Regions from separate parts of the Homo sapiens genome. Here region 2 is linked to region 1. Evidence: promoter capture Hi-C in human tissues and cell types (Jung and others, 2019). All regions are on one chromosome and are shown on one strand. Each heading gives the region's core, a stretch centred on a gene start or on the middle of the fragment in contact. The rest is flanking DNA. Distances are from core to core; before and after follow the strand shown. Region 1 holds the start of AMOTL2 (angiomotin like 2). Region 2 has its middle 13 kb from the start of MIR4788.

What was found. The method cuts DNA at HindIII sites, captures the fragments that hold promoters and counts their contacts. A contact is called where the count stands out against the background at its distance.
Region 2: a fragment that was not itself captured here is called in contact with the fragment with the promoter of AMOTL2 in region 1 in 1 of the 25 tissues and cell types used here (stomach).

What each region holds. Positions count from the first base shown.
Region 1 is chr3:134,372,037-134,377,017 of GRCh38, forward strand. AMOTL2 (angiomotin like 2) reads right to left here and starts at 2,411. Exons shown (of 10, transcript NM_016201.4): 1 at 2,306-2,411. RefSeq lists enhancers at 1,671-2,470, 2,471-3,270, 3,271-4,068. The HindIII fragment of the contact is 13,073 bases long and covers 1-4,981 here.
Region 2 is chr3:134,422,446-134,427,911 of GRCh38, forward strand. No RefSeq gene overlaps it. Among named protein-coding and RNA genes, the nearest start is that of MIR4788, 13 kb to the right of the region's middle. RefSeq lists enhancers at 4,462-5,466, 4,786-5,466. The HindIII fragment of the contact is 8,360 bases long and covers 1-5,466 here.

The DNA.
Region 1 (4,981 bases), core at 1,161-3,660:
AGAAGCCCTAGGCGAAAGGCCTCTAGGACCCTCTAGACTGAGGCATGCCAGAGTCCAGCCTTGGTACAGTCAACCTACCACCCTCTAGACTGAGGCATCCCAGAGCCTTGGCACAGTCAACCTACCACCCTCTAGCCCGCTGAACCCCTGGCCACTTTTCCCACTCTCCCTGAACCAGAGAACTCCTGGAGGATGGGCTTGGGCTCTGCTTCATCAAGCGCTGCTGACAGAATGAATCTGGGGCTCCCTGTCATGGGATGACCTTGGCAGTCATTCTGCAAGGTGAACAGGAAGAAGGAGTAATTGCACCTGAATTGGTGAATAAAGGATGAATAAAAATGCTTCAAGAGGACAATGGTTTTGTAAGATGAGGCAAAAAGGTGCCACCCATTAAGGTTAGTGGGTCAGTCTTTTGTGCTGACAGTAACTGCAAGAGAGCTCCAGGAAAAAGGAAGGATGGCATGATGTCTTTGATTTTATGATTATCCTCCCCAACACACACACACACACACACACACACAAACACACACACACGCTACTTGGAAAAGCCCCCACTGGTCCTCTAGGCACATAAGGGATGGGCACTCAGCATCTTTCTTGACATCAGTGTCAAGGAAGCCCATCTTGACTTGGGCCAACTGGAGAAGTAAGGGGAGGCTGTTGGTTGAGAGACCTGGGGCAGGGGAGAGGGGACTGTGAGCCTAAAGTGCTGGGAGATTATATCGGAGAAAGGAGTTCCCTTCTAAGCCTGGGCTCCCAGTGGTTCATGGACTGGAAATCTGCCTGCCTCTCTCACCCAGCTTCCTTTCCACAGCCTCTTCCAACACAAATCTCCAAACTGGGATCCAGGGAAAACTAAACAGAATCCACACTGCCACAGGTCCTGTGTGTATGGGCAGGGGTTGGGGGGGTGGGTGGGAGGAATGTGGCCCCTCCTCTGCCACTAAACTAGCCCTAGTGTCCTGCTTCAGTTTGGGCTATGGCATGTTGGCAGAGCAGCCATTCCCGATCTTTTCCCTCTCCCCACCCCAGTACTCCAGCTGCCCAGAGCTGGGGAGTGGGGGATGAGTCTGGAGGGCACCTCTGTACCCATCCTTCCTGGCACCCAGTCATGCGCCCCCCACACACAACGAGGGGTAGATGTGCAAGACTCCAGAGCTACCCGAGGCAAAGCAAGCAAATGGGATTCAATTCGTATGGGATTCAGTTCGCCCTGGAGTTTTATCTGCGGGCATTTCCTATGATAATCACTCTCTGGGCCGACTCCCACAGAGAAGGCAGGGGAGCGGCAGGAAGGAATGCGGAGCCTTCCTGACAGATTCCAGGCGCTCCATAGTGTGCCCGGACTGGGAGCAAGGAACATCTCCAAGGCCTCTCATCGCGAATTTGTCCCGGCCAAGCCCCTCAGATTCACGTCCTTTCAGACATCAAACGCCTGGGCCTTTACAAAAACCTGCTTCCGCGCCCCCGGCCGCGAACCTCTGCTGCACTCGCCCGCTGCGCTCTCTGAAGGCCGCCTTTCTAAGCCAGCGCGCGTCTCCAGCCTTGGCCTGGGCTCCTGCTCGCCTAAGGAACCAAAGACAGTCTCCAAGCTAGGAGGTTCTGGCACCCCAGCCAGGGCTCCCGCCCCACCACGAGCCCGGGCGGACCTGGAGCACCGGTGGCCGCTGGTACGCCTGGGGCGAGCCGGTGAGGGTAGCCCGAGGCCCGGAGAGGTCTTTAAGCATCGCGGGTCCGCCTCCCTCCCTCTCGAGCCCTCTTTGTTTTCCAAATACTCTAACGCTGACGTCACCGGGCTGGACAGCAGGCTGCATTCTTTCTAAGTGAGGGCCAATTCGTGGCTCCAGAGAGGATTTTCCAAGGAAGACAAAGAGGAATTCTTGGACTAGTTGGGGGCAAAGGCACCTGTAACCCCCACCTAACCAAATCAGCCCGCAGGACCCTGCAACTTGAGCTCCAAGCGGCGCCTCCATCCCTGTCCCCCGCCACCCCCACCCCCGCCGACCTGCAACCCGAAACACTGTGGCTGTTGTCTCCGGAGTCGGCCCTCTCCCCTCTCCCCCAGCCCCAAGAGACCCGCGCGTTTCTAGAGCCCCGCAAAGCCCAGCGCGCTGCGCTCCCTGGGCAGAGCGGCCCTTGCCAGGCACTGCGGCTGCCTCGAAAGGGCGCACTGCGCCCCGAGGACGCTCGATCCTCGAGGCTCCGACTCCCGGAAAAGGCCGGGTTGCGCCGAGACTCCAGCTTTGGCTGGGGCACGTTTCTGTGGCCTCGCGCGCTCTCCCGAGCGCCGAGCGGCCTTCCTTACCGCTGCGGCCCGAGGGTGCCCAGCGCAGTCAGACACCACAACCTCCGGCTCGGCCCAGCTCAGCTCGGCGGCGAAGATGTGTTCTCGGCCGTGGCGCCGACGCTCTGGCTGTTCGCGCCCCAGCGCGCAGCCCCAGGGTCGGCCCGCGCCGGAGGCGGCTGCTATGCCAGGAATGTGAGAGTTTCAGGTTCCCCCTCGGGATCAAAGCGAACCACAAATAACCTCTCAGCGCACCGCCCTCCTCCGCCCTCCGCCTTCTCCCGCTCCCTCCTCCCGGCCCCCGCCTTCCTCCGGGGAGGCGGCGCTGCTGGCCGAGCGCCGGCCCGGCCCCCGAGCTCCGTTCCTCCGCGCCCAGCGCCCTCCAGGCCGCGGTGTGTCCGCCCCTGCCCCATGCTTTGCCTTCGGAGCTGCTGGAGACAATTTAATCCAACTCTGCCCATTATCGCCTCCACTCCCAGTCGCCGACCCGCTCTCACCCTTCATCCCTAAACCCATCGACGGGACGACAGCAAGGGCTGTACCACGCGTGTCCTGGGGTTGCTGCGGGAGGGGACTCCGGCTGTGTGTGTGTGTGTGTGTGTGTGTGCGTGTGTGTGTACCGGGGGAGGTGGGAAAGGGAGGAGGGACTGCAAAGACATCCATATCCTCTGGGCTGGGACAGTGCCCCGGGCTAAGTGAATGCTTCCAGCCACAGAGCCTCTTTCCCCTAACCCCCGCTGTTTTCACCCCCAGCGGCAACCTTTGAATGCACTTTTGTTTACAAACACCTTCGCCAGCTATTTTACGACCGTCTCGACAGGAAGTGTGAATCTGGGTTGGAAAATCCGGTCAATTTGACCCACCTACCCAACTGAATCACCCGCCGCCAGGCGCTCTGTCCAGTTCTTCCCCAAGGTGATAATAGGCGCCCCTTTACGCAGAGTGCAAGGTGTGCCACCGCTGGCTTTTCGCCCAGTCATCCGATTCAGCCCTGCCAAGCACCCTCCAACGGAGTTCTGTTATCATCCCTGTGTTGTAAATGAGGACACCAGGGCTCAGAGAGCTTAAGCAGCGTGCCCAGAGTCACACACAGTGAGAACCAGGTAATCAACCACTGGGCTGCTTGGTTTCTCATTCTCAAAACCCCTCCCTGGCTATCAGAATCCAGGCTCCCTAGATGGACAGGGCAGACACTGGGAGCCCTCCTCTCTCCACTTACCCTGTCCTTGCTTTAGTCTCTTCTTTACCTCCCCCTACACCCCTGCCAGCCAGGGGCTTTCCCCTGTACCCACTTCTGTGGCTCCTGCATGGAATCCTCTCCTCTGCCCCCAGGACACTTCCACTGCTAGATGGAAACCCCTTCTTCAGAAAGCTCGCTCTGACACATGCTGTCCCCGTTCCCCATCACACAAGCCCTCTCTACAAGTCAGTTGGGGTGAGGTGGGGGCAGTCAGGCCCCTGTCCACCCAGAGAGTCAGGGCTGATTTCTACCCCTGGCTGGGTCCTCCCATCAGCATGGAGTTTGCAAGTCCCAAATTCACTGGAGGGAAACAAGGACAAGGAAATTCTGCAAGCTTAATTGCCAGGGACATTGTTAATTTTTAATAAAACTCACAAAAAGTGTGTGTGTGTGTGCGCACGTGTGTGTTTTACTTGGAAGTCAAATACTGTGTTTCAAACAGTGATTGGATCTGAGATGATTGAGCAAATGGATCATTTGTGCCAAGCTACGGGATATTTGTCTTTCCAAGGATCCCCTTACGAAGAGAAGCTGTGATCAGTATACCACTGTAGGTAGGAATTTTAGAAGTGAAAGGAAAGAGGTCTCTGAGTGGCCTTACCTTATGGACAGCATAATTGGTGGAGGCAGGGGAGTGGTTGTGGACATGTGCACTCGGGTTGTAAAACCAGGGGAAAGACCACATGGTACAGTCCTGTCTTTCAGGCATTTGGGAGGATACCTGACAAAATGTTTGACAAATATTCTTGAGATGGTTGCAGAAAGGCGTCAGTTCAAGGCAGCTAGGGTGAAGGAGGTACATCTTGGAGTGGACAAGCCTGCTGCAGAGCCACACAGGCCCCCATGATTGCTAATTTCTGTCCCCAAAGGGACAGAAGCGGGAGAGGGATCCCAAAACCTAAATGAGAAATGTGCATGTACTTTTATTTTTCCTTTCCCTTTCTCTCTGCAGAAAGAACAGAAGGCAAGATCTGTCAGGCATGGCCTGCGGTGGAGCCTACCTAAGCTGGCGGCCACCCCAGCTCTGCAGGATAGTTGGTGGAGAAGGTGACCACTGTTCAGATGTGCCAGAGGCAGATGTGCACAGGGGACACTGGGCCGGCCAGCCTGCTTGCATATGAATCTTCACCTACAGCAGAGGGGAGAGAGGCTCTCTTAGTGAGCCAATGCTTTCTTCTTCCACCTTTGTCTCAATCTACTTTGTCCCATTCTCCTTTACCTCCTCTCTTCCTCCTACAGGTTATGATTCTTCCCAGATGACAATGTGGCTGGCTGGGTCAGGAATCCTATCCAGGAAAGATGCGGAGGTGACCTAATTCTCAGAGTAAGCCAGGCTGGAGGCCTTTGCTCTAGGAAGTGTAGCTCCTTGGGGTGTGGCTGCATCATAGGTGTGTACAGGGCTTAGCAAGGGATCCAGGCACCCACACCATCGCCTCTCCTTAGCCCCGGTCTGGGTC
Region 2 (5,466 bases), core at 177-2,676, 49 kb after region 1:
AGTGTGTGGCACTCTCCCCCTCTCCTTCTCTTGCTCCTGCTCTCTCCATGTGAGACACCTGCTCCCCTTTCCCCTTCTGCCATTACTGGAAGCTTCCTGAGGTCCCCCTAGAAACTGAGCAGATGCCAGCACCATGCTTCCTGTAAAGCCTGCAGAACCATAGGCCAAGTAAACCTCTTTCTGTATAAATTACCTAGCCTGAGATGTTTATTTATAGCAACATAAGAATGGCCTAATACACCTGGGTTCTTAAGAAGATGAATAGAAAAGCTGGAGGGTGGGGTGGAAATCATGAGGTTGTGTCCCACTTCCTGCAAGAAAAAGCCTATGTCCCTTGATCCTACATTCAAGGCCCTTTCTCTCCCAGAAAAGCCATCCTTTCTAGCCCTGGCCACTTTCCCTGTACTAATTAATCTCACTTCTGCCTGTGGACACCTCTGCTCTCAGGACTACTGTCTCCTGGGCCTCACTGCCACTACCTCTGCCTCTGTGTGAAGCCCCTTCCCAGGTGTGTCTGGGCCCCTCTCCTCTCAGCCTGCACCCAGGAAGCTGTTTCCTCTCCCCAGACAGTGGACGTCTCCCTGGCAAGCCTCTGCAGCCCTGAACTGTCCTGACCTTCAGGGTCCAGTTCTTGGAAGGCTCAGGACTGCCATTTGAATTGGGATTATCCCTGGGAGCCCAAACATCTGGTCATCTCCAGAAGGCCACTCACTCTGGGGCAAGGATGGAGCTAGCAGTATGTCAACTGTGATGTGGGGTGTCACATCTGGCTCTGTCCCATCTGCCTGGCTGGGGTTTGCCCCTACGGAGGGTGTTTTGTGTTGCCTGATGGAAGAGGGATGTCCACCAACCAGGCTCAGAGCAGCATCAGGCCCCCCCTGATGTGGGTGTCAGATTACAGCCACAACAGATGGCATTGGCTCAGCTCCCAGGGATCCCCAGTCCACAATGCAAGTCACCTAATCCCTAGTCTGCCATGCAAAGCAAAGGTGGAGCAGAGGGCAAGGGTGGGCAGTGAAGGGCACTATTCAAGGGTGCACCCATCAGGTGTGGGCGAGAGGTGTGTTCCCCAAGGAAGCTGCCTCATGCTAAGCACTCTCATGGGGACAGCATCTTCACACTATGCAGGGAGCTGCTGACAGGGCCCTAGACACCAGAGACCCTGCTAAGGATACTGATCCAAGGGAAAAGGCGTCAGTCAGGTTCATTGGCAGAAACATAAGCCATATGGAAGAAAAATGGGCTTGAAAGAAAAATGTAGAGCCAGTTCACTTCTGAAATGGAGAGCAAGGACTATCCAGCATGGGGAAAAAAGCAAGGGAATACACTCAGTTCTGTCTTCTGTCCAGTGCAGTAGAGTGATAAAGAGAGAATGACAGGAAAGGGAAGAGGAGGCAAGAGCTACCTGCAGGGACATGGGGATGGCTTGAGGGAGGCCACCCAGAATGCTTCTGGCCTGGCCCCTGCTCCCCTCTCTGTTGCGTCTTCCTTCCCCATACAATCCCCCTTTGCCCTTGCCTCAATGTTCATCTTTGTCCCCACTGTGGTCAGGCCTCTCTGCCTCTGGTTTAGCCCACCCCAGTTCCACTATGCCCCTGTGTGACAAAGGTCCATATGAACTAGCTGGACTTTGGGCACTATATACAGACGTAGGGGAAAGATGGAATTCAGTGCACAAGTCCTCTGGCTCAGGTCCATGATCACAAAGAAGATCATGTTTTAGCATCTCAGAGTTGCAAGGGATTTCAGCCTTCATCTAGTTGAAGCCTTCATCTTACAGATGAGAAGGCTGGAGCTCAAGGGCTCAGGGACTGCCCCAGATCCTCAGGTCCTGCTGGCACACTCTTCCTCACCACTGCAGAGCATTGGGATCTGTCTAGGGGCAGCTGTAACAGTGGGTATCATCTGCCCTTGCTTCTCAGCATGTCCTTGAACTGCTCTCTCTCTTTGTGGGGAAAGATGGCAGAGAGTCCTGGGTTCAAATCTGATCTCTGACAGTTACTTGCTGAGTGACCTTGAGCAAGACACTTGCCCTCTCGGAGCCCAAACCTCCTCACTCTAAAAAAGAGAACTTACCTTTACAATAGTGTGGTAAAGACCAGATGAAATAATGTTCATGGATAAGGCAGATGACATGGAGGGAAGAAGTGGAAGAAGATCCCTCTCAAAAAAGTTATCATGATGATTTTATTTATCTATTCACTGAATGACTGTTGACTAAACTCTAAACTGCTATGTGCTAGGCTCAGCAGTACATTAGACCTACAGAAATATCATTGTGAATTTACATTCCATTGGAGCAGACAGTTAACAAGTAAATCAGTAGATGCATATATAATCTGACACTCAGAGGTGAAAAGCGTTATGGAAAATGGGACAGAGAGAGGGAGAGAGATTGTAGGAAAGTGCCTGGTAAATTACCGGGCCCCATGTAATTGATTCCTCTTGTTGTATGTTGCCTGGCACTTAGTAGGTGCTCAAAAAATGCTAATTTCTTTCTCTTCTTGCCTATATTTCTTATTTCCATCTTCCCTACGTAACTCAATGCCCATTGCTACTCCCAGGCTTCCCACATCCCCTCTGAGGGCCTCACGGTTCTACCCGGCAATCCACCCTTCTATGCTGCATGCCTTCTCACGCTGTCTCTTGAAGATCCTGGGCCTGGCACTGAGCACTCAGGGACAGTAGGCCCTCTGCCATAGTAAGAAGTGTAGTAATGGCAGGAGGGACGGCAAGGAAGCAAATGCACACCGGGCAGTGCTGAGACATTCCTTTCGGTGTGAGGGCAGGTGCTTCCTTCCTGGGGCCTTGCCCATTCCCTGCCCTCTGGGGAGAGACACAGCTTTCAGTTAAGAAAATGGAAAGATTTTCTGAAAACACCACACCAGCGATCAAGGATCAATCCTCTCTTCCAAAGTTATTTGCAATAATGAAATATAACATCATTAATTTGTTTTACCCACCAGAGAGTATAAAAAAATTTCCCAAATATAAAGAAACCTCTGTGTGTGTGTGTGTGTGTGTGTGTGTATTTTAAAGACAAGGAAAGAAAATTTAAGCTGTACATCATTATTTTTTTTTTTTGAGACAGAGTTTCACTCTTGTTGCCCAGTCTGGAGTGCAATGGTGCGATCTCGGCTCACTGCAACCTCCATCTCCCAGGTTCAAGAGATTCTCCTGCCTCAGCCTCCCGAGTAGCTGGGATTACAGGCGTACACCACCACACCCAGCTAATTTTTGTATTTTTAGTACAGACAGTGTTTCACCATATTGGTCAGGCTAGTCTCAAACTCCTGGCCTCAGGTGATCTGTCCACCTTGGCCTCCCAAAGTGCTGGGATTACAGACGTGAGCCGCCACGCCTGGCTCATCGTATTTGTATATATATGTGCTCTGTCCCATTTTACTCTCTTGCTTAAGTATGGATAGCTCTCGGTGTGAGTTGCTTGTCTAGTCTGTTAAGAGTTCAGGTTAAAGCCAGGTGCAGTGGCTCACACCTATAATCCCCGCACTTTGGGAGGACGAGGTGGAAGGATCTTTGAGCCCAGGAGTTTGAGACCAGCCTGGGCTACATAGTGAGGCCCCATCTCTACAAAAAATAATAAAAAATTTAGCCAGGCATGGTGGCACGTGCCTGTAGTCCCCGTTGCTCAGGAGGAGGTGGGAGGATCGTTTGAGCCTGGGAGGTCAAGGCTACAGTGAGCCATGATAGTGCCACTGCACTCCAGCCTGGGTGACAGAGTGAACCACTGTCCCAAAAACAAACAAACAATAGTTCAAGTTAAGGAATGTCCTTGATTAGCTCCTGCTTGGGGTTTCAGAGGAATAGCTTACTTTGTCTGAGAAGAGCCTAAAGCAGCCTTCCTTCTATGGCAAAGCCTCCCTTTTACCTTTTTCTTCTTTTGGGGGCCCCCTCTAAGCTCTCTCTGAGGCAGGCCCTTAAAACTCATCTCTCAGCAAGGCTGGGTGCTGGCACTGGAGACTACATAGAGGTGATAAGACAGAGACTCCTAACTCAGTAAGCTCACAGGGAGACCTCCCACCTTGGAAAGACAAGGCCTTCTTTCAGGTTCAGCTCACACTTTCACTGCCAGTGTGACCTAGGCCTCAGTTTACCCATTTGTTAAATGAGGAGGCTGGCCTACATTAGCCTTCCTCCGGGTGTCAGTCATGTACAGTAGTCCCATATGATGCTCCAGGGACCATACTTTGGCCAGTAGGTTCGCAAGTCACTGACGCCTGTGGGAGCATCCTGGGAAGCCCACAGGCTGCATTGCACCCAGGTCAAAGCTGGGGCTGCTCACTCTAGCTGGAACACAGAGCCCTTTACTGCTGAGTGCCTGCAGGCAGCCTTCTGGGAAAAGCCAGCTGTGGATTTCTAAAGGACTTTCCCAGGCAAAGATGCCTGGGATAAGAGAAAAACAGGATGGTGAAAGCACCATCCCAGGGATGTGAGGGATGGAGCAGCCTCTCTGACCCGAGACCTGTGGTTGCATCCCTGCCTACACTGAGCTGCTCCAGCTGCATCAGGCCTGACTTTGCAGGCTGGTGGTTAAGTGGGTAGACGGGTCTGGACGCACAGCCACTTCTGGTCATCCACAGCGATGAGCAAGCGGGAGTTTCACTGCGGCTGCCTCTGACACCGTGCTTCATCCCAACCTTTCTCACAGCCTCCCTCAGTGTTTCCAAGATTCCCTGGGGTGAGTGAGACTCATGGTGAAGCTCAGACTCTACCATGGAGGGCAGGCCTGCCTCACCTGGGGGCCTCCCTGAAGGGGTCACAAGGAGGTCTGAGGGCAAATACATCTCCTTGGCTGGCTCCTAGAAATGAAAGAGGGGCAGGATGATCAGAGGAGTAGAATTTGACTTCCTGGTCCCTCCCTGTCCTCCCTCAAGAAAGAGGTGACAAATGAAGCATTCTTGGGGAAGGAGAGAAAGTCCACAGTGACTGAGGTCTGAGGGCAGGGCTGAGACAGTGGTGGTGGAGATGGCGACCTCAGCCCTCCACACGTGCAGTGTCAGGGCCTCGGAGCCCAGCTGGCAGGCCACAGGAGACAGCGGGAGGTCTGGCTGGAGTGGAGACTGAGTCATCTGGGACTGCAGGGTCCAACGGAGTCACGCCTGTGAGTGATGAGCACCTTGACTGAGGCCAACGTCACAGACGTGTCTGGGAAGTGAGTCAGGGACCCGCAGAGTAGGAGTCTCAACATTCCTGGGAACAGCTTCCTCTGACTGTCCTGCCGTGATATGTTTTCTCCCCTAAGTGGCCTCAAAGGGTTGCTGGCTTTGCCATTGACATTTCTACAGCAAAATGAGCTAGTGAGCACTGGAGTTCAAAGGACATGGTGCAACTTTCAAACCAAATTCTCGTGGGATTTCAGAGGCTGATTACCCTCCCCTCCCTCCCTCCCTCCCTCCTTTCTAGCATGTCGATATTCATCTGTCAAATATTTATCGAGCAGCCACT